Linked DNA regions of Homo sapiens: regions 1, 2, 3, 4, 5 and 6 are each linked to region 7. The links are contacts of gene promoters, found by promoter capture Hi-C in blood cells and fetal thymus (Javierre and others, 2016). All regions are on one chromosome and are shown on one strand. Each heading gives the region's core, a stretch centred on a gene start or on the middle of the fragment in contact. The rest is flanking DNA. Distances are from core to core; before and after follow the strand shown.

What was found. The method cuts DNA at HindIII sites, captures the fragments that hold promoters and counts their contacts. A CHiCAGO score of 5 or more calls a contact.
Region 1: a contact is called between a fragment that was not itself captured here and the fragment with the promoter of MED13L in region 7, in 16 of 17 cell types (naive B cells, naive CD4 T cells, total B cells and 13 more). The highest score is 16.6, in naive B cells.
Region 2: a contact is called between a fragment that was not itself captured here and the fragment with the promoter of MED13L in region 7, in 8 of 17 cell types (monocytes, naive B cells, total B cells and 5 more). The highest score is 13.9, in monocytes.
Region 3: a contact is called between a fragment that was not itself captured here and the fragment with the promoter of MED13L in region 7, in 13 of 17 cell types (neutrophils, monocytes, naive B cells and 10 more). The highest score is 12.8, in neutrophils.
Region 4: a fragment that was not itself captured here is called in contact with the fragment with the promoter of MED13L in region 7 in 15 of 17 cell types (monocytes, M0 macrophages, naive B cells and 12 more); the score reaches 21.0 in monocytes.
Region 5: a contact is called between a fragment that was not itself captured here and the fragment with the promoter of MED13L in region 7, in 6 of 17 cell types (monocytes, naive CD4 T cells, non-activated CD4 T cells and 3 more). The highest score is 9.3, in monocytes.
Region 6: a fragment that was not itself captured here is called in contact with the fragment with the promoter of MED13L in region 7 in 15 of 17 cell types (monocytes, naive B cells, neutrophils and 12 more); the score reaches 18.6 in monocytes.

Annotation. Positions count from the first base shown.
Region 1 is chr12:116,061,714-116,065,125 of GRCh38, forward strand. The region is part of intron 4 of MED13L (mediator complex subunit 13L); the gene reads right to left. Among named protein-coding and RNA genes, the nearest start is that of MIR620, 85 kb to the right of the region's middle. The HindIII fragment of the contact is 1,761 bases long and covers 1,090-2,850 here.
Region 2 is chr12:116,500,088-116,503,171 of GRCh38, forward strand. No RefSeq gene overlaps it. Among named protein-coding and RNA genes, the nearest start is that of LINC02457, 14 kb to the right of the region's middle. The HindIII fragment of the contact is 6,891 bases long and covers 1-3,084 here.
Region 3 is chr12:116,042,675-116,046,044 of GRCh38, forward strand. All of the region lies in intron 4 of MED13L (mediator complex subunit 13L), which reads right to left. Among named protein-coding and RNA genes, the nearest start is that of MIR620, 100 kb to the right of the region's middle. The HindIII fragment of the contact is 7,745 bases long and covers 1-3,370 here.
Region 4 is chr12:116,516,831-116,519,787 of GRCh38, forward strand. It overlaps LINC02457 (long intergenic non-protein coding RNA 2457), which reads left to right. Exons shown (of 3, transcript XR_001749339.3): 2 at 1-1,060; 3 at 1,428-2,957. Among named protein-coding and RNA genes, the nearest start is that of LINC02457, 2.5 kb to the left of the region's middle. RefSeq lists enhancers at 1,539-2,039, 2,040-2,540. The HindIII fragment of the contact is 887 bases long and covers 959-1,845 here.
Region 5 is chr12:116,085,629-116,088,755 of GRCh38, forward strand. The region is part of intron 4 of MED13L (mediator complex subunit 13L); the gene reads right to left. Among named protein-coding and RNA genes, the nearest start is that of MIR620, 61 kb to the right of the region's middle. The HindIII fragment of the contact is 359 bases long and covers 1,096-1,454 here.
Region 6 is chr12:116,476,480-116,479,527 of GRCh38, forward strand. No RefSeq gene overlaps it. Among named protein-coding and RNA genes, the nearest start is that of LINC02457, 38 kb to the right of the region's middle. The HindIII fragment of the contact is 5,605 bases long and covers 1-3,048 here.
Region 7 is chr12:116,275,969-116,279,292 of GRCh38, forward strand. It overlaps MED13L (mediator complex subunit 13L), which reads right to left and starts at 1,725. Exons shown (of 31, transcript NM_015335.5): 1 at 1,092-1,725. The coding sequence starts at 1,163. RefSeq lists silencers at 1,554-2,023, 2,074-2,133. The HindIII fragment of the contact is 4,130 bases long and covers 450-3,324 here.

The DNA of each region.
Region 1 (3,412 bases), core at 720-3,219, 210 kb before region 7:
AGGAAAATTCAAGGCCAGGCGTAGTGGCTCACGCCTGTAATCTCAGCACTTTGGGAGGCCGAGGCAGGCTGATCATGAGGTCAGGAGATCGAGACCATCCTGGCTAACACAGTGAAACCACATCTCTACTTAAAAATACAAAAAATTAGCCAGGCATGGTGGCGGGCACCTGTAGTCCCAGCTACTCAGGAGGCTGAGGCAGGAGAATGGCGTGAACCCGGGAGGCAGAGCTTGCAGTGAGCCGAGATCACACCGCTGCACTCCAGCCTGGGAGACAGAGCAAGACTCCACATCGAAAAAAAAAAAAAAAAAAGGAAGGAAAATTCTATCCGAAATCCAAATTATGAACTATTACAGTCACATGCTAACATTAATACCTTGAATCAATTCTCTTCTATTGATTTTCTTTTTTCTGGGTATGGTGGTGCATGCCTGTAGTGCAGTTTTTTGTTTTTTTGAGATGGGATTTTGCTCTGACACCCAGGCTGGAGTGCAGTGGAGCAATCTCAGCTCACTGCAACCTCCACCTCCCAGGCTCAAGTGATCCTTCCACCTCAACCTACAGAGTAGCTGGGACCATAGGCATGAATCACCAAGACCAGCTAATATTTTGTATTTTTGGTAGAGACAGTGTTTCACCATGTTGGCCAGGCTTGTCTCGAACACCTGAGCTCAAGCAATCTGCCCACCTCAACCTCCCTCTATTGGTTTTCTATTGAACAATATTACCTTCATAGGAAATGAATAGAATAGTGTCTCTCTCTCTCTCTCTGTGTTTTTTTTTTTTTTTTTTGAGATGGAGACTCACTCTGTTGCCAGGCTGGTGTGCAGTGGCGCGATCTTGGCTCACTGCAACCTCCACCTCCCGGGTTCAAGTGATTCTCCTGTCTCATCCTCCTGAGTAGCTGGCACTATAGGCATGCGCCACCACACCAAGCTAATTTTTGTATTTTTAGTAGAGACAGGGTTTCCCCATATTGGCCAGGATGGTCTCGATCTCTTGACCCTGTGATCCGACCAACTCACCCGGCCTCAGTATATTTTTAAAACAGAGGGGGAAAACACCAAAGTGGCCCAGGTTGGAGTGAAAGCTTTTTTCACTGAGATGGCCTCACAGACCAGCACACAACATGGAGTCCCAGAGGTCTTCAGACCCTGGCTGAAAGCTGCTTTCTCTATGCCAATCAAATCTGTAAAGTACAAGATGTCCTGTACCCAAGTGGAGATGCTTTTGTGTCTTTGCTGCTTTCTTCCAAAATACTGGCTCTTCCTCCTTTTTGTCTACTTTATTTCTCAAAATAAGTTGTAGATCATTCTTGGAGGCTCAACGCAGCCCAAAACAATCTTACTCTGCAATGCCCACCCAGGCCCTTAGCACAGCAGCTGGCTATTTGATATCCAATTTAGGGCATTTCTGTCTTCTTTCCCCGCCCAGTCTCATCCATAAGAGCAAGGTCTGTGTTAGCCCCTGGGCAGCCCAGAAGACCACTTTTTTGTACTGATAGTAGATAATACATATATAACTGGCTTGAGGGAGGAAAAAAATTAAGCATTGTTTTGGGCCAGTGCAGAGGATCCCTTAAACTCAGGAGTTCAAGACCAGCCTGGGCAACACAGGGAGCCCTCCTTTCCACTAAAAATAAAAATAAAAATAATTAGCTGGGCATAGTAGCCTGTGCCTCTAGTCCCAGCCACTTGGGTGGCTGAGGTGGGAGGATTCCTTGAACCCAGGAGATCCAGGCTACAGTGAGCTGTGATCGTGCCACTGCACTTCAGCCTGGGCAACAGAACAAGACCCTGTCTCAAACAAACAAACAAACCAAATCAAAAAGCATTGTTTGGATATCTAAGCCACTGTTTCCTTCGAGTATTAATAATCTAGTTTTATGTACCTCCAAAACTGACTCTCACTGACCTAGATAAATGGTTATTATAAGCCTTAAGACTCATCAGGCAAAAGCCTTTTTTAACCACCACTACCTCCAAGGAAAAAAACTGTTTATCAAAATACACACCTTTAAAATTTTTCTAATACTTAGTATCATTATGGTACTGTTGTGATATTACTAATACAAAAATATAAACAGTGGTAGAGTCATCCCACTGTACCTACGGGGGATTGGTTCCAGGGCCCCCACACAGATACCAAAATCCACAGATGCTTAAGTGCCTTATATAAAATGGTCTGGGCTGGGCGCATGGTTTGTGCCTATAATCCCAGCACTTTGAGATGGTGAGGTGGCCGGATTGCTTGACTCTAGGAGTTGGAGACCATCCTGGGCAATGTGGCAAAACCCCACCTTTACAAAAAATAAAAAATAAAAAAATTAGCCAGGTGTGGTGGCACATGCCTGTAGTCCCAGCTACTCAGGAGGCTGAGGTAGGAGGGTCACTTGAACCTTGAGGTTGAGTCTGCAGTGAGCCACGAATGTGCCACTGCACTTGGGTGACAGAACAAGACCCCGTCTCAAAAAAAAAAAAAGTCTAGTATTTGCATACGACCTACACATATCCCCCTGCATACTTCAAATCATCTCTAAATTACTTACAATACTGAATACAATGTAGATGCTATGTAAATAGTAGACTGTATTATTGGGGGAATAATTACAAGAAAAAAGTCTGTACATACTCAGACTTAGCCAACCGAGTATGTACAGACGTACTTTTTAAAAATATTTTCAATCTGTGGTTGGTTGAATCCTTGGAGGCAGAACCCACCGATATGGAGGGCCAGCTGTACTTATTTCTTATGAAAAGAGGTCAATTTGATTAAGTTTCTCTGTTCCTAAAAAATTTGGAATCTGGGGCCCCAGATGCCTGGGGAAGAAAGTATGACCGAAAGCAAGAAGCTTTAACAACAGCTTACTTGATGTCTCAGCTGGAGAAGGGAGTTCCCAGGGTCTCATTAATACTCAGCAAGTCTAACAGTGAGCTACTTTGGTGAAGGCAAACAAGGAAGACTGCTTAAACACACAACAAAGCAACTAAACCTTCTACGGTACTATACTGCCAAAAGGGCAGCTTCTTCTCCTTACAGCTCTTCCATCTGACACTGGTACGGCACTGAGACTCGTCACACCATTATGTACCCAATCTCCACATTGTAGAGCATGACTCAACTATAAATGGTATGAGGACAAGGGCCCCATCCATTTTGTCCACTGTTACATCCCCAGCATCTAGCACAATGTGTGGCATATAGTCCGCTTTAAAATAAATATATGTGTCTATATGTATATACAGTCAAGCAACAATGGAAGTACCTTCTAAGAAAAGCATCACTAAGTGATTTCATTGCTGTACAAACAACACAGATTGTACCCAGACAAACCTAAATGGTATATATTTTTTATTTATATAAAATTTTATAGGGAAAATCAAATGTCCCAGCAACATTATTAAATATTAA
Region 2 (3,084 bases), core at 313-2,812, 220 kb after region 7:
GAGTACCCTTAGGGTGTCATTCATCTTTGTCTCCTTCGAAGCTAACGTAGTCCCTGGCACCGATCAGGTACTCACTGAAGTCAGATGACTGCATGTATGAATGGAGCTGCTTCTCTGATGGACTGAATAGGAACCCAACAATACCACCTTTTGGCAAAAAAGACATTAAAATGTCAAGGTTAAAGTGTGGATTTAGGAGTCGGATGGACATAGTTTGAACCCCAACTCTGCTGCTTGCCAGTTTGGGTGGCTGCTTGGGAATCATTTCCTCATCTTTAAATTGGACATAATGTCTTCCACCTGATGGAGTTCTTGGAGGATTAAATACAGGTGAAACACCTAGCACAGAGTATTAGGTTGGTGCAAAAGTAATTGCGGTTTTTGCCATTTAAAAGTAATAATTGGGCCAGGTGCGGTGGCTCATGCCTGTAATCCCAGCACTTTGGGAGGCTGAGGTCGGTGGATTGCCTGAGCTCCGGAGTTCAAGACCAGCCTGGCCAACATGGTGAAACCCTGTCTCTACTAAAAATACAAAAAATTTGCCGGGCGTGATGGCGCACGCCTGTAGTCCCAGCTACTAGGGAGGCTGAGGCAGGAGAATTACTTGAACCTGGGAAGTGGAGGTTGCAGTGAGTCGAGATCACACCACCAGACTCCATCCTGGGTGACAGAGCAAGACGCCATCAAAAAAAAAAAAAAAAGTAATAATTGGGCCAGGCATGGTGGCTGACACCTGTAATTCCAGCATTTTGGGAGGCCAAGGTAGGTGGATCACTTGAGGTCAGGAATTCAAGACCAGCCTGGCCAACATGGCAAAACCCTATCTTTACCAAAAATACAAAAATTAGCCAGATGTGGTGTTGGGTGCCTGTACTCCCAGCCGTTTAGGAGGCTGAGGCAGGAGGATTGCTTGAACCCAGGAAGCAGAGGTCGCAGTGAGCCAAGATCGCACCACTGCACTCCAGCCTAGGTGACAGAGTGAGACCATGTCTCAAAAAAAACAAAAACAAAAACAAAAATCATAAGTAATAACTGTTCAGTAAGTGATTGTTCTTTTTAAAAATCATGGTGTATGCCAGGCAAGATGGCACATAACTATTGTCCCAGCTACTCAGGAGGCTGAGGCAGAAATATAGCTTGAGCTCAAGACTTTGAGTTTAGCCTGGGCAATATAGAGGGACTGTCTCTTAATAAATAAAAGGTATAAAATACCTCATAAAATTTACATTTTAACCATTTTAAGTGTATAGTTCAAGTGGTTTTTCATACATTCAAATTGTTGTGTCCATAAGTATTTTTATCAATACTGCTATATTATGTCACAAGTCTTTTTTTGTTTGTTTGTTTTTCAAAAGAGGGTCTCACTTTTTCACCCAAGCTGGAGTGCAGTAGCATGATCATAGCTCACTGCAGCCTCAAACTCCTGGGATCAAGTGATCCTCCTGTTTCAGCCTCCCAAGTAGCCAGGAATACAGGTGTTCACCACCATGCCCAGCTAATTTTATTTTTTTGTAATTTTTTGTAGAGATGGGTTCTTGCTATGTTGCCCAGGCTTGTCTTGAACTCCTTGCTTCAAACCATCCTCCCACCTCAGCCTCCCAAAGGGCTGGGATTACAGGCTTGAGCCACCACACCCAGCTAATTTTATTTTTTGTATTTTTTTTTTTTTTGGTAGAGAATGGGTCTTGCTATATTGCCCAGGCTGGTTCTGAACTCCTTGCTTCAAACCATCCTCCCACCTCAGCTTCCCAAATTGTTGTGATTACAGGTGTGAGCCACCATGCCTGGCCTGTGTCAAATGTCTTAATAGTGTGGATTTTGCTAGAGACAGGACATGCTATTCTGAACCGGTCATGGACTTGCCTAGGTCTCTGCTTTCTCTAGTTCATTTCATCCTCTCAAGAATCCTGGGAGGTTTTCTCATTTCCATTTCTATTGGAGAGCTCTAACGATGTGCCCGAGGGCACTTGGCAGCAAGTGGCAGAGCTGAGACCAGCCCCCAGACCCACGGATCTGTCCACTACCTATCAATAACCACTTGCTGAATTGTGATGAACCCAGTCTGACCAAATCGCTTCTCTGAGGTTCTGACTTTGACACTGGGAGGGGCGTAGCTAAAATGAGAAAAGAGGCAGCCCCATTCCAGGACAGGTGAATGACATGGGAGCTCTGGCATCCTCAGCCCAGACAGCAGCACAGGGCAGGGGCTGAGAGAGCCTTGTCGAGCTGCTGATGTCTTTATGCAGCCAGGACTGACTCCACGGTAGCAGGCCCAGCATGCATCACCCCTGTGACAAATGATAAAGATCTCATTCGGCATACGAGATCCACTTGAGGAACTGAATGGAGACAATTGAAAAGCGCTCCACACCGGCCACTGAAGCTGAAGCCCGCAGAGCCGGATGATGTAAGGTCTTCTGTGTGGATTTGCTGATTCTGGAGATTTTAACTATTTGGGCTTTATTAGTCTCTGGGCCTCCTCGTGGGGAACTGAAGTGCTGGAACTCGGGGAAGACCTGACTTGTCAAGTCCATAGTATCAGAGCATTCAGACAGGCTGAGTGTCTGATTTCGGCCAATCAAGTTTCATTTTGAAGACTAACTATGATGGATTACGATGGCTTTCTAATTCCTCACTGCCTCCCTGGGAAACTTTTTTTTTTTTTTTTTTTTTTTTTGAGATGGACTTTCACTCTGTCCCCGAAGCTGGAGTGCGGTGGCACGATCTTGGCTCACTGCAACCTCTGCAGTTCAAGCGATTGTCCTGCCTCAGCCTCCCCAGTCACTGGGATTACAGGCATGCACCACCACGCTTGGATAATTCTTGTATTTTTGGTAGAGATGGGATTTTGCCATGTTGGCCAGGCTGGTCTCGAACTCCTGACCTTAGATGATCCACCCGCCTCAGCCTCCCAGAATGCTGGGATTGTAGGCGTGAGCCACCACGCCTCCTGGGAAACTCCTAAAGGGGCCCCTCTTCCGTATTTCCTTGTCCACAGGAACAAATATTTGCCCTTGCAATTAGATCCCTCCTACTGCCACCATTGCTGTATTTCAGCAATTCATGAGAGCCTGACAAATGCTA
Region 3 (3,370 bases), core at 127-2,626, 230 kb before region 7:
TTTACATTTTGTTTATAAAAGCAGCAATATAACAGAGGTGAATAAACACACATTTCTTCTCCCTGGAAAGGACAGATGAGGCTGATAGCGTAAAAAAAAACCCAGCATCCTGTCTGACTGAAGTATTAGCCTATGAGGTGGAATGAGAAAAATCAGTATTGTTTGAATAGAAATAATTATAAAAAGAAGGAAATTTTATCTGGGTATGGTGCCATTACACTGTTTACCCTCAAGAGCTGAAGTCTCAGTTCAATTCTTTCAAGGATAAAGGGCTATATTTACCCACTGTTAGCCGATGTTCATGTTAAACAAAGCCCTCACAGAACGTAAACTTTTAATTTTTTTATTCAGTAACATTTAACTTCTTTCTGTGCCTGGGGTCATCACTGGTAAGAATTCCAAGAAATATTCATTCTGTGGAGATACATTCAGCTATCCTGGAAGAAGAACTGTACCACCTTAAACCTCAGGAATGGTTCTATCCCCCTCTCCCATTTAATCATGATACTCTGAATCCCTTCTGCATCAATTATGCATACAATAGAGTACAGTACATAAAACCACAATAAGCAATACAGAAAAAAAAGGATTAAAGCCACGAAAAATGTATTAATTTATTCTATGCAATGCACTTGTAATTCTTCCACTTTCAGTCAAGATCACAGTACAGTTTAATAGTCTGGTTCAGGGACCAATTAATCCTTTTATATTTAAATCAATCACTGACTCCTCTCCGAATAATTTAGCTTCTACATGCTGCCTCCCATTTGATGTCTTTGGGGGAAAGAGCACAGTTAACACTATGTGGTACATTAATCATGTTTAGTAACAGAAAAAGAAATGCATTATCAGAGAAATCTAATACAAAAAGTAAAACATGCTCTAAAACATGTTAGGATAATCAGTACATGTGTCACATTTTTCTTAATAAAAGCAGGCAAGTTAAACTGGGAACCAAGAGTATACTCTTCATCTGGCTTTTCATAGTATGTGTGCATGCATGTATCTATTTATCTTGACTATGTATAAATAGATATCCAGGAATAAAGCCACTCAGCTCAATCCATACCCCTACGCACTGGCAGATTCTTCTCCATCCCAACCTAAAGCAAATGACTTGATGATGCTCAAACAGTGGGGAAGGGGAAAAGTAATAGAAAGGCATGTATTTTATTCAAACTGGCATATGTTTGGCACTTTGCCACAAAGCTGAGTCCTTTTCCTAGAACAACTCAGAAGCCTAATTAATAGGGTTAATTCAATGTAATATTCATGTGTAGTCTAAAGATTCTTACCACTGCATATAAAGCAGATGTCCATGTTTTAAGAATATTTTCTCTAAACAAATGTGTCAAGAAAGCATTAAGAGTTCATGTGACCAAGAATAACGCCATTGTACTATATGCTAGCTCTATTTTAACCAACAGCAAGAGAAGGAGGTCCTCTTTTTTGTTCCTGGATCTTAATCACAAGAATAAATCAACTTGGTATTCTAGTGCCCACCCCATGGATTACAAATGCAGGATTTAGTTTCAGAAATTTCAAAGCCAACTTAAGCACTTTTCAAATGTTCCATAAGTAAGTGTTTTCAAAAAAATTAACCAATTAAGTTTCTATGTAGATTCAGCACTGAGAAAAGTGAAGTCTGTATCTTGGCATAACCCGAATGTATTGCTGACTCAGGAGCTCTGCCAGTTCAAACAACTCCACACGAAAGAAAGCGCAAGTGAATGTTAGCTCTGTGTTCACTTCACACCAACACAGAGAAATCAAATGGTCAAAGTTTAAGACCAGCTCTGTGATACTAGTGGGAAGAAGAGTGAAAAAAGAGGCCATACTATAGGTGGAAATCCTAACTCCTAAGAACACACAACAGCATCTAAAGACAGATTCAAAAGCCTGGCTAGATTATCTCACTGAAGGAATATTTCTCTGAGCATGTGAGCTGAGACAACATTTGAGAATCTGGTAGACAACTATGACCCGCAAATAATCATCAGGTAGAAAAATATTGTCATCCTCACTAATCCCCGGAAAAGTCACATCAAAGAAACATCTGGAAAGAACCCAAGTCTTCTGTTTCTTTTTTAAGCCTCAGAATAGAACAGAACACCACTAATCAAGATTAAACAAGTGAACCAAAGCTCATCATCAAAAATCATCTCATCCCTAGAATATGAAGTTGTATCAGCTAACAAGCTACTGTCAACAGGATGAGTCTTGTGTCATTTTCATGGTGGCTTGGTAAATTTGGGTGGATCCATTCATACTCCTCTGTCTAGTTATGTCTGTCAAATGGTATGCAAACTGTATATGCAAAAAAGGGTATAGTAAGAGACCCTACAGATAACTACAAAACACACATAAATCCAAGGAGTTAAATGCAAGGAAAAGAGGGGGCCCCTCCTTCTCTATTTATTTGTTTGGGTAAAATGCACCGTTATATTTTAGTGACTTTCTCAGGCAGTAAATCCAAAGATGGAAAATATTACATGTTCTTTCTGGATTCAGTATAGAATAATGTTCAAAACGATAATAAAATGCCTAAAATCCTTTTGAACACTGGTGTTCCTTTCCTTTCTCTTCTCTGCTTTTAATCTGGTCATCCCAATCCTGGGCCTACATAGTACTGAGTCCCCCTGGCTGAGACAACAAATGAAAGCCTCAGCACATCCACAAACTGCCCTTCTCTCATGCTCAGCTCCTGTCTGAGCTGCTCTGAAAAATTCCCTCCCATCCTCTTGCTAGCAGAGGCTGTACTCGGCTTCTAGATGGGGGTCTTTGGTGCTTCTTAACTGCCTCTGATTTGGTAGGAGCTCTTCCTTTACTAGCCCCTGTGGACTTGTAACTAATTATTTAATCTATGGACAGTCTGTACTGAAAACTATGGTATGACATAAAATATGAGTCACAGCGTATCTGGTAATAGTATATATGTGGTGAAAAATGCTCTGCTATAAACCTCATATTTAACATAATTTGACCAACATTAACATAACAAATTTTCAAGTAAATAACATCATAAACATTAGGATTACCAAACGGGATCCAGTTCAGAGTTGCTATTGTATCAGCAGCCATCTTTAGACAGGTTACAAGTAAAATGGGAAAAGAAAAATATTAATGCAATAAAAATTATTAAGTCACAAAAAATGTTTAACCAGCCTTTCAAAATCACCAATAACAAGACATATTTTAGGTAGATAAATATATATATATTTCTATAATAAAGTATTTCTTTTATTACCAACTACCTAATAAAGTAGTAGGTAATCAATAAAAATTACATGCATGAAGTGACATTTCTAAGTCAATATATAAAATCAACTCTGGAGAAAGACATGCTTAAAAAAGAAAAAGCAGGCTTAGC
Region 4 (2,957 bases), core at 152-2,651, 240 kb after region 7:
CGGCGACGTGACGCACGGTGGACGAGGAGCCAGGATGCCCAGCTCTGCTACCAACACAGAGTGGGAATTTGCACACCTCACATGGTGTCAGTTTCCAAATGCTGCTGTAATCAATTTCCACAAAGTGGTGGCTTAGAAAAACAGACATGTATTCGCTGACAGTTCTGGAGCCCAGAAGCCTGAAACCAACGTGAGGGTTCTAGGGGAAGATCCTCATTTGCCCCCTCCCAATTTGGTAGTTCTGGGTGTTCCTTGGCTTGTGGACTCATCACTCCAATCTCTGCATCTGTCTTCACATTGCTTTCCCTGCTTCTCTGTGTGTCCATTCTCTGCATGTCTAATTTGTAAGGATATGAGTGATTGCATTTAGGGCCTACTTGGGTTATCCAGGGAGATCCCCTCATCTCAAGAAAATTGATCTAATCATGTCTGCAAAGACCCTTGATCCAGATAACATTCACAGGTTCTAGGGATTTGATTGGGATATCTTTGGGGTGAGGGGGGATATTTTTCAGCCTGCCACACCCACTTCCCTTCTTCTGGCCTCTTCCAGAAAATGATGGCCCCTCTGAGCCCCGAGTTCCCCTTCAGCTTTGAAGTTCTGCAGGTGATCCTCAGACAGCCTAGCCTGCATTGCCAAGTTCACGACAATGTTATCTCAATAGAGTACCTGATATTTTTTCAAAGCACTTTCCCATCTGTTATTTTGCTTCATGCTCCTGATCACCTCTCGGGGCACACAGGGCAATTAATATTAAACCCATTTAATTGATGAAACAACAGAGGCCCAAAAACTCCTAACTCACTTTCTCCTTGAGTTAGTCAGCTAATGGGAACCAGGAGCAGGCCAGGTGGTTTCCCAGGGCATGCTTTTTTTTTTTCTCTCTCTCTTTCATTGTATATAGCCTTTCACCACCACAGGCTTTGTTCTGGAAGCCCAGGAAGGTAGGCAAGTCAAAGCTTGTCATGTAGATCCAAGCCCACCCTGAATCCCTGATTCATATCCCCTGGAGAGTGTGGCAGGAACTTCATTTGCACTCCCTGTGGTCCCAGGTGGCAGGTAAGCTCTCAGTCTCTGGCTGTATACTGTTAGAGACCTCTTCTTCCCGTGGGTAGCTTCCCAAGCAAGGGGGTTTTCCCAAACCTCAAGAACTGCAGGACTATCAGACATTAGCAGAATTAGATCTGCCTGGCCTCCGGGCCAAAAAAAGATTTCAATTGTTTCAGGACAGATTAAATTCAGGACTGGGAATAGGGCAGGGGAGGTCTTTTTTCGCAGTCCCACCTGCCTGTGACTTGCAGATCTGGACGAAGAATTTCCTGTCCTAACTAGGCCTCAGTTTCCCTGAAATAACATCGATTAGGTGGGAGTGGGTGTGGGTCAGTAGGATTTCCTCTTACCCCCAGCCCTTTTCAATCTAATTCAGAAATGAGGATGAAGCCAAGTGTTTGGAGTTCTTGCGAAGAAAGATACAACAGCCACACAAGGTATTATTAACTTTATTACTTGTCAGGAAGAGGTGGGGGAAGCAGTTAAGATTCGGCTAGATGAGAGGTGAGTGTACTGCATTACAATCTCTGGAGGGTGTGGTGGGCATATGAGCTGGAAAGGACCATTATTTATTTACTACTTTTGTTAAGTGCCTGTAATGTGCTGGGTGCTATGCTGGATGTGTGTGTAACACAGACACATAAACCATTCAGGGTCAACCTTGCGTGGGTGGGAGGAGGTTAAAAGCACTTGCATCTTCTTCTCCCTGAAAACAGAAACATCTTCCTCCTTGGCCTACCATGGTGCCAGCAATCTCCAGCATTAGCGATGGCTCCTTGGGGGTAACCTGCAGAAGCTTCTTAACTGGGTTAAGGCATCTTATTACCTTGCAGGAGTAAGGCAATCGCCAGCTCACTGATAGTACACAATGATTTCGCTCATTCCATCCACTCTTGGCCATTGGTGCAGCAGGAAGGGCCTTGGGGTCCTCCAATTTGGACAGTGGGGAGGACTTGGCCCTGGGCTGACAGATTGCTGCTTGGCAGGTTTATGGGAGCCAGGCGTCAGCATGGTGTGACGTGGGGAGGCAAGAGTCAATGCCAATGCAGGCAGCCCCCTCCCACCAAGCAAAGCGGCTTACAGACTTCGGAGAGGAAACAAAACATCTACATGCAAATGTTGAACCAGATTTCAGAGCAAGAGAGCAACTTCAAGAGCCAAGGCAGTTCCAACTACCAGGTGTTTAATACCTTTTCAGCTTGGGTGGATCATGGATCTCTTTGAGAAACTGAGGAGACAGTCTTGGATTCTCTCTCTGTCTCTCTCTCTCTCCCCCACCTCCCCCTCTCTTGCACCTTCTTCTCCCTGCAAACAAAATCAGAGTCCTGCTCTGTCACCCAGGCTGGAGTGCAGTGGTGCCACCTTGGCTGACTGCTAGCCTTGAACTCCTAGGCTCAAGTGATCCTCCTGCCTCAGCCTCCCAAAGTGTTAGAATTACATGCGTGAGCCCCCACACCTGGCCTGGATCCTCTCTTTTGTAGAAAATGCACTTGCATAGCAAACACACACACACATACACACCTCTCACTTTTTTAATGAAATGTCAGGGTGTCTGCTGATGCCTGAAGCACATCCGAGGGCCGCAGTGAGATATTCTTCTTTGGAAGTGCTCAACAACCCTGGGAGGTAGGTGTGGCAGGGTCTCTTTTCATACACCATAAAACAGAGACCCAGAGGCAGCTCGCAACTTGCTCAGGTCATGTATTAGTGAGCATCAGAGGCAGGCCAGGACCCCCAATTGCACAGGTCTAGGAAGCACCATTTCATCCAAGTCTATGTTGCATGCCAAAGAGTGTCACTGACAGAGAACACAGTGAGACCACTGCTACCGCCCTGGAGTTAGGCAGTGCAGCAGCTCTAGAGGACCTCAGCCAGGGTCTTCTGATAACCATTTACAGGCATATAT
Region 5 (3,127 bases), core at 25-2,524, 190 kb before region 7:
GATGTACACTGGAAACTAAAATAAATGATTTTATATTAAAGATTCAATTTAGGAGTAATGTAGGAATGGGGAAAGGAGAAAGACTAAATTCTCATCTTCTAAATTCAAGAGAAGATTAAAATCACTCACACACACACACACACACACACACACACACACACGACATTAAGAACAGCAGAATAAACATGTTATTGATAAATTTAGAGGTAAAATGCCAGAAGAAACAGAAATCTTACTTCAGGGGAGCAACTCAAAGAAGAGAGATGGAATTTAACTTGAATTGCCAGGGAAGACAGAGTGGGTGGGAGAGAAAGAATATGAACAATGAGAAAATGAGTTTAGACTATGCTAGAACTGTGAAGGACAACTCTGGCTGGATAAAATGGCTTCTGCTGGGGAGCAGAAATGCTAGACAACGCTTGGGCGATCCCTACACAATTGACACCACATTATGTTCTTCTATTGGAGAGTGCTTCACCAAAAGTAGTCTAACCAAAGTATATACGAGGGCAGAGTGATTTGAAACAAAAGAAACTACAAGTCAAGAGACATAGGCAGAAGACAACAAAAACAGACCTAACATTCTATCAAGGAGGCAGCTCCACAGTTTCCGTAAAATGTAGTATTTTAATTTAGCAGTTTTCCACGATAATTCTTTTTTTTTTTTTTTTGAGACAAGAGTCTCATTCTTGTTGCCCAGGCTTGAATGCAACAGTGGGATCTCAGCTCACTGCAACCTCCGCCTCCCGGGTTCAAGCGATTCTCCTGCCTCAGCTCCTGACTAGCTGGGATTACAGACTTGCACCACCACGCCCAGCTAATTTTGTATTTTTAGTAGAGACGGAGTTTCTCCATGTTGGTCAGGCTGGTCTCAAACTCCCGACCTCAAGTGATCTGCCTGTCTCGGCCTCCCAAAGTGCTAGGATTACAGGCGTGAGCTACTGTGCCCGCCCCATGATATTCTTTAACCATAAATATCAAGCTATTATACTTCAATCTTATACAACTGTTAATAAAATCCTAAATGAAGCATGCAAGCCACACTTAACAGGTTCTCAGAGACAGATCTAATAATTTCTACGAACCATACTTAAAAGCTTTATTTTTATAACATCATTTAACACTCCACAACAAATAGTCATATTGTTATAATATACATTATGCATTTTCAAAATTTTTTCCTTTGACTCCATAAAAGGATAGCAACAGAACCACAATGCTAGTAAACACCATATTTTCAAATTCATACCAAAATCATGGTGATTTCAAACATTTGGTAAGACTACTTCTTTAAAATTAGAAAACAGCTGATGTCATTATTTTAGGGGTAAAATCAGTATACGATATGACATTTCTTATATTGCCATTATGTAGAAAGATTTATAGTAGAAACACCTACCTTATTTAATGCAAATTGTGTATATAAAAACTGATTCACAAATATTTGATTGGCAAGCTTTCTCTAGTACAAGAAATTACCAACATCATAAAAAATTCTCCTTATTTTTTTCTAAATATTACTACCACCAGTTTCACTACTAATAGCAAACAGCTACCATTACACAATAACCAGATGTTAGGTTCTGTATTAGCTACTTTATTTATGCTATCTTATTCAATACCATAAAATTCATCACAAAAAAGGCAAGCTTAAGTGAGTAATTTCAAGCTTAATAGAATTTATGTAATCTTTTTCTTAACATTTTAAATTGTTTCCTTAAACTAATGAGGAAAAAAATGTTAGAAAAAAAAGTGTAAAGTCAACCAAAAGCAAAAATATGAAACTGTATTCTTAACCATCTTTCCAGAAATGAATATTCTTGTCGAAAGAGAAATGTTCTGAAATCTAACTCTAATCTACAATGCTTTCCCCCTGCTGCCAAGTTGCTACACAGATGCCACAGTCAGAAAATTTTACCAAGTGTGATCACACTTTTCAAAGAAAGGACCCCATTTACTAACAGCACACTACGAATCAAACAGGCAGCCATCCCTCAATCGCCTCCATTCCCCTTACAATCCTATCATCTGCCTTTCAGCCTTGTTTGGTCACCTCCCAGACCTTCCTTCCTCTTACTGGTCTGTCTCATTTCTCATCATCCTACCTCATTCTGCAAAAAAAAGTTCATAAGGGCTGTTAAGAAACATTTGTATAGAGCACTAAAAGTGCATCAGGAAAAGGTTTTATATAAATGTTAACTCCAAATATATAATAAAGATCTTTTATGTCTATACATTTTTTAAAAGATGGTACCCTCCTTGACAAAGGATGGTATGCAACGTCAAGTTTTACATCCTAAAATACGTATCAGGTTCCCCATCCAGTAGTACAAAGTAGTTCCTTCCACTCCAACATGACACTCCCTTTAAATAACAACTATAAATTATGAAGAAGATATTAAAATCTGCAAAAACCTGAGTTACCAAATGCAGGAAGATCCTGGGGGAGGGGAAAGAGTTTACCACCAGAAGGAGGAAATGGCACTGAATCAATCATCCTCATTCTCATCACAGTTGTCCACCTACCCCTCCACCCCCCTTTTTAAACAGTTTGTAGCATAGGGCAGACTGAACCACAACAGCTAAAACTAACAGAAACCCGACCTTGGTTCTTAGTGGCAAAGAACCAGAGGACTGAGTTAAAGAGACCACAGCTGCTGAAAATGAGAATAGAAATTCTGGAAAGAAGAGAATCAAAGACACAAACTCTGCCCAAATCTCTGGCCAATTCCTACACTATGTGCATGGTGCAGGCTCTCAACAGCCCTCGGAAGGCTAAAACAGTGGTTTTCAACCAGGGGTGACTTGCCCTCCCAAGGAAAATCTGGCACTATCTGGAGACATTTTGGGTTGTCACGACTGAGGGAGGAGGGTGTGACTGGCATCAGGTAGGGAGAGATCAGGGATGCTGCTGAAAATCCTACAATGCACAGGACAGCTCTCACAATTATCCAGCCCAAGAATCAACAGTGCCAAGGCTGAGAAACCCTAGGATAAAAGAAGTAAAGAAATTTCAGCTTCTGCCCACCACAAAAGAGACAATAGTTTGGAATCTGAATTCAGCCAAAGTTAACCCCTTGCTTAAAAAAGAAAGAAAAGAAAAGAGGAGAGGGGAGGGGAGGGGAGG
Region 6 (3,048 bases), core at 319-2,818, 200 kb after region 7:
AAAATACATGTCCTTTGACCAGCAATTCCACTTCTAGGAATTCATCCCAAGGAAATACGAAAGTGTTCGACATCTTACTTAGCTATAAAGACACCACAGTTTTGGCAAGAACAGCAAAAGATGGGGAGCAACTTAAATTCCTGACAATCAGGAACTGATTGAGAAGTTTGCGCTGCTGCCATGTGACACAGCCATTGGGAATGAGGCAAAAGTGTGCGTGCATTGACATAGAAAGGCGTTTTTGATGTACTGTAGAGAAAACAAGCAGATGATAACAAAGCCTTGTGAAACATTTTAGAAGTGTGTATGTGCGTATGTATAGAAAGAAGGCTGATGGCCAATAAACGCACGAAAAGATGCTCAGCTTCGCAGTAATCAGGGAAATACAGAGTAAAATGATGCACCACGCTCACCCACGAAATTGGGCACATGCACAAAATTAAAGATTGATCATTTCCACTCTTGGCAATAGCACAGGGATCAGATCTTCTCATGGACTGCCAGTAGAAGTATAATTTGGTACAGCTTTTTTGGAGAGGAATTTGACATTTATTTATTTATTTATTTATCTATGAGATGGAGTTTCACTCTTGTTGCCCAGGCTGGAGTGCAATGGCATGATCTCATCTGACCACAACCTCTGCCTCCTGGGTGCAAGTGATTCTCCTGCCTCAGCCTCCCGAGTAGCTGGGATTACAGGCCTGCACCACCACAGCCAGCTAATTTTGTATTTTTAGTAGAGATGGGGTTTCCCCATGTTGGTCAGGCTGGTCTTGAACTCCCAACCTCTGGTCCTCCACCCACCTCGGCCTCCCAAAGTCTTGGGATTAGAGACGTGAACCATCGCGACTGGCTGAAAATGTTTATTTTTAAGAGAAGGGTCTTATTCTGTCACCCAAGCAGGAGTGCAGTGGAACCATCATGGCTCACTGCTGCCTTGAAGTCCTGGCTTAAGTGATCCTCCCACCCAGCCTCACGAATAGCTAGAACTACAGGTGTGCATCACCACACCCAGCTAATTTTATTATTTTTAATCTTTTGGTAGAGATGGGGTCTCCATCTGTTGCCCAGGCTGGTTTCAAACTCCTGGCCTCAAGCAATCCTCCCACCTCAGCCTCCCAAAGTGCTGGGATTACAGGCGTGAGCTACTCTGCAAAGCCTAGAATTTGACAATTCTGTCGAAATTTAAATTTCATATTACAGTGCCTCTAGAATTTCACTTCTATGAATCTATCCCACAAAAGTACTTGCACAAGTGGACAAAGATGTATGGTTTGTGTTAGTGATAAGTTGGAAATGACCTGAATACCCATCAGGAAAGAGTGGGCTTGCCAATTGCAATTTGTTGATGTAGTAGAATGTTACCCAGTTGTCAAAGAAAATAAGGAAGATTTAAACGAGTTGATATGTACAGCTCTCTAGGATAGGTAAAGAAAACCAAATCACAGAAACGTACATATTGCATGAATTTGTCTATGGATTTTTTATTTTTATTTTTTTTTTTTTTATGGAGATGGAGTTTCACTCTTGTTGCCCAGGCTGGAGTGCAGTGATGCAATCTCAGCTCACAGCAACCTCCGCCTCCCGGGTTCAAGCAATTCTCCTGCCTCAGCCTCCTGAGTAGCTGGGATTACAGGCATGTGCCACCACACCAGGCTAATTTTTGTACTATTAGTAGAGACGGCGTTTCACCATGTTGGCCAGGCTGCGCTCGAGCTCCTGACCTCAGGTGATCCACCCACCTCAGCCTCCCAAAGTGCTGGGATTACAGGCATGAGCCACCATGCCTGGCTTTTTTTTTTTTTTAATACTACATATATAGCTGTATACACATACAGGTCTATCAATGTATGTGTTATCGAACACGAGGGGTTCGGTCTAAGCCCTGTTGTTTGCTGCACAGAAAGCCAATCACTGAGACAATGAGTATTGCCAAGGAAGAAGCCTTTAATCGGGTGCTGCAGCTGAGGAGATGGGAGCTCAGTCTCAAATCCATCTCCTTGACCAACTAAAATCAGGGGTTTATATAGCAGGGAAGAAATGTAACCACGTGTGGGAAAACAGGTGTAAGGAAGAGGAGGTCAACAGGAAGCAGGTGGTCAGTTAGGCCATCATGTCTTGTGAGGGGACTGACATCTCATTGTCCAAATGCAGTGACCTGGTAAGTTTTAGCTCCTTGATACTATCTGGGAGGCCTGATGACTGGTTTCCTGAGAAAGGAACTCTGATAAGACAATTGTAACTTTCTCAAGTTTTAAGGCTAGGAGGATCGGTTTCTATGCTTATTCAAAGAAACCATAAACATCAGTTCTATAGGACAATTGGGTGAGTTTCATATGGACCAAGTTCTGACAGACTCACACTAAACAGTTAATAGTGGTTATCTCTGTGAAGGATTGGAGGAAAAATATAAGCACTTTCTCTCTTATATTCCACACTTTTTAAACAGTTTGCATGCACGAATGTAATACTTGGCTGATTTTTTTTTAAAAAAAACAAACAAAAAGAACCATGGAAAGATGTGCACACGGAGTCTTTCTGGGCAGAGGGGTTATGGGTGATTTTTTTTAGTTTCTTGTGGCTCGTCAGGATTTTTCTGCTTTTTCTACAATGAACATGTGTTAACTGTGCTATTTTAAAACATTTTTAATTGTAAGAGGAGTAATAGTAACAGAAACATGTACAAAGGCATTTAAATAGAGACAGCTAAGCAAAGTATAGAACATCGCTCTCTAGCTTTAAGAGTTCTGTGATCTAATGGGGTTCTGTCTCTCCATCTCTCTTGTCCCTAACACACGCCTACACATACACACTCTACAAGACAGGACATAGGCAGTAAGTGTTTCTGGAGGTCAAAGGATGAAGGGAGCTGTGTACAATGGGCGGCAGGGAAGGGGGACCGTGTCCTAGGGGCTGCGCTAGTTAGCACTGCCTTGTAGAAACAGGCAGGCTTTAATAGACGGAAACCCTCCAGTAATTGAAATGCTATTATCTGTGCTGGTGGCATCCTGCTCTGGGGATTAATGACCCTTGTTATCAATTAATTCT
Region 7 (3,324 bases), core at 475-2,974:
ACTGCAATTATTAGCCTAAACGCCAGGTTTAACAACGTGAATGTTTTCAGAGGTAGGTAATACGACCCAATAAAAAGCAAAGATGGCATTTACCACCAAATGTCACTGACACCGCCAGGAAAAGAGTTGCTGGAGCCCTATACATTTTTAATTTCGATGAATCTAGACACCGTCGGCGGGTGCCAGGCTTCCACGAGAACAATTGACACCCTAACTGCTTCAAGATTAAGGCAGGCGATTCAAATCCGAAGGAAAAGTTGTCAATTATCAGAAAGAGAGAGCGCGAGAGAGGCGAAGGCAGATAAAAGCGATGTTATCAAACCGACCAGCTTGTTGCTTTTGTGTGTGTGTGTGTGTGTGTGTGTGTGTGTGTGTGTGTGTGTGCGGATTCGTTGTTAGGATAGAGAAAAACAGTTTTTAAAAGACACAGGAGGAGAGAAAGAAGAAAAAGCTTTCTCCACCTTCCGTCGGCTCGGTGCAATGGCTTTACGGCTCTCCAGCATAGTAAGCCCCGAGAGGCAGGCGGCTGTCGATGTTTACAATCGCGGGAGCTTCGGGTGCAAGAGTCCTTTCCTGACACAATCGCATTCAATCAACTATTTTAGGGCGAAATTGCAGGTGTCATTATGGAATTTAAAAAAATTCAAAAGGCAGGCGGGCGGGCAGGCAGCTGATCCAACAACGGGGGAAGAGGTTGCCGATCGGAGGCGCGGCAGCACAAGGCAAAGCCTTCCACATTTACGGGGGGAAAAAAAGGGGGGAAAGGGGAGGAGAAGGGGAGTGCGATTGCAACAGAGGGTGGGCGTTCGAAGTGCGACCCAGAATCCGCAGCTCCGAGACTTCCACATGCAAATTCCACGCCGAGCGCCGCGCTCACAAATGATTTTTAAAGAGCCAAATAAACACTGGATGGGATCCAAGGCGAGAGAGAGACGATCCAAAAGGGGGAGAATCGGCGAGAGGCGAACGGCGGGGAGACGCGAGGGAGGGGCGAAGTCCCGGCGGCGGGAGGAGAAAGTTGGTCGGCGGCGGAGGTCGGGGACCCCCCCCCTTCCCCGGCACAGCCCCCTCCCCGCAGCCCGGCTACTCACCAGCGAAAAGAGGTTGGAGTGACAATCCTCCAGGCTCGCCCCGTTCGCCACCCAGTTCGCTGCCGCAGTCATGATCCTCCGCGAGCCCGGCCGCCAGAGCGGGGCATGTCGGAGCGAGGCGTCCGAGGCGAGGCCGGGCCGGGCGGCGGCGCCTCGCCGGGGAGCGCGGGGCGGCCGGGCCGCCGCCGCCGCCGGGGGAGGGCGCGAGGGCCGGCGGGCAGGCGGGAGGCGCCGCGGCGACGCCGCGCCGGGGGCAGCGGGCCCGGGCTGGCGGGGGGGGCGCGCGCCCCGGGCCGGCGCTGCGGGCCGGCCACCGCCTCCGCCTTCCCTGCTCCTCAGCCGCCGCCGCCGCCGCTGCTGCCGCTGCCGCCGCCTTGTTTATCTCCAGCCACCGACTCCCCCTCGGCCCCCGCCGGCGCGCGAGGGGAGGCGAGCCCCGGAGCCGCCGCCGCCGCCTCGGAGCCGCCGCCGCCGCGGAGCGCGAACTCGCGAAGGGGGGGGTGCGGACGAAGCCAGCGGGCGACCCCGGCAGCCGAGCGACGTCCCCTCCTTCCTCTTCCTCCCCCACCCCCCCCTCCTCCCCAGTCAGCCTCGCTTCTCCTCCCTCCCCGGGCTCGCTTGCTCTGACAGCAATGGCGGCCGCCGACCGCGGCTCGGCCCGCCATTGGCTGGCGCTTGGTCACGTGACGGGCGCCGGCCGCGCGGGGGGAGCGAGGGGCGGGCGGGGGAGGGGTCCGGAGTGGCGGCGGCGGCGGCGGCTCGCGGGAGGCGCTGCTGAGCTGAGCGCGGCCGGGTCCTCCGGCCGGGAAGAGGGAGGGAGGGAGGCAGAGAGGGAGAGAAAGAAGTGCGGGCGGCCGGGCTCCCCGGCGGGCGGCGGACTGCCGGCCCGTGGCTGCCGTGGGCTGCCCCTCGTGGCCGCCCCGCCCCCTCGCGGTGCACTGATCGTGGCGGGGCGGGACCGTGGGTCCCGGGCGCGCCCGTGGTGGCCGCGGAGGAGGGCGCGGGACCCCCGGCCTGTGCCCTCGCAGCCCAGGCCGGCTGGCGTGGCGCGGCGGCCGCGATGTGGGCCAGGCAGCGGGTCCGAGTGCCCTGGGGAATGTGTCCTCAGAGGCTCGCGCCGCCGTCCGCCTTTTGCAGAGGAGAAAACTAAAGCACAAAGGGATTAAATCACTTGCCCGAGGTCGCACACTTGGGAAGAGGAGTCCAGATTCGAACCCGCGCACAGTGAAGCCAAGCTCTTGGACAAGGTTTCACAGGCTTCGCCCAGGGATATTCACGGCTGCCATAGACGGAGCGCTTACTGTGTTCCAGACACTGTGCGTTTAATACAGAAATGTTTATTGAGCCCTTACTCCTAGTTACTGTGTGCACTCATTCATTCATTCATTCATTCATTACATAAATGTTTCCTGAGCTCCTGCTGTGTGCCAGAATCTGTTATAACTTCCAGGCACTGTGCTAAGGCCGTGTTGGGAGCAGACCCTTCTTCCTGGCGTCATTCATTGGATAACCAACATTTCCTGAGTGTATATGGCCTGGGAGTCCGGAGGAGTGCTGCTATGAAGAGAAGCTCTCCCAGTCCTCAAGAAATGGATCCCCGAAAAGGGGGAGGAGAAAACAATGTCTTCACTAATACGCCTCCAAACATGGAACAATCAGCTGTTTCAGGTAGATTAAGCTAAAAGAGGAAGAGTGGATGGCTGGCACAGTGGCTCACGCCGGTAATCCTAGCCGAGGTTTAAGACCAGCCTGAGCAATGTAGCAAGAACCCCCGTCATGACAAAAAAAATAAAATACAAAAATACAAAAATTAGCCAGGCGTAGTGTGGCATGTGCCTGTAGCCCTAGCTACTCGAAAGGCTGAGGTGGGAGGATAACTTGAGCCCTGGAGGCAGAGGCTGCAGTGAGCCCAGTGAGCCGAGGTCGCATCACCGTACTCCAGCCTGAGTGACAGAGAGAGGCCCTGTCTCAAAAAAAAAAAAAAAAAAAAAAAGGAAGAGTAGAAAGCAGGGAAGAGATGAGAGTGTATAATAAGAGAAGTCTTAAGACACGTGAACTGAGTTTTGGAACTACCACAAATACTGCTAAAGCAAAACTCATGAGCAACATGTTATAATGTGTATTATCATGCAACATATTGTTACAATGAATGTCGTTACCTACATTATTTCACATAATCCGCAGAACAACCACCTAAAGTAGATACTGTTATTATTCTTAGGCTGTAATTAGG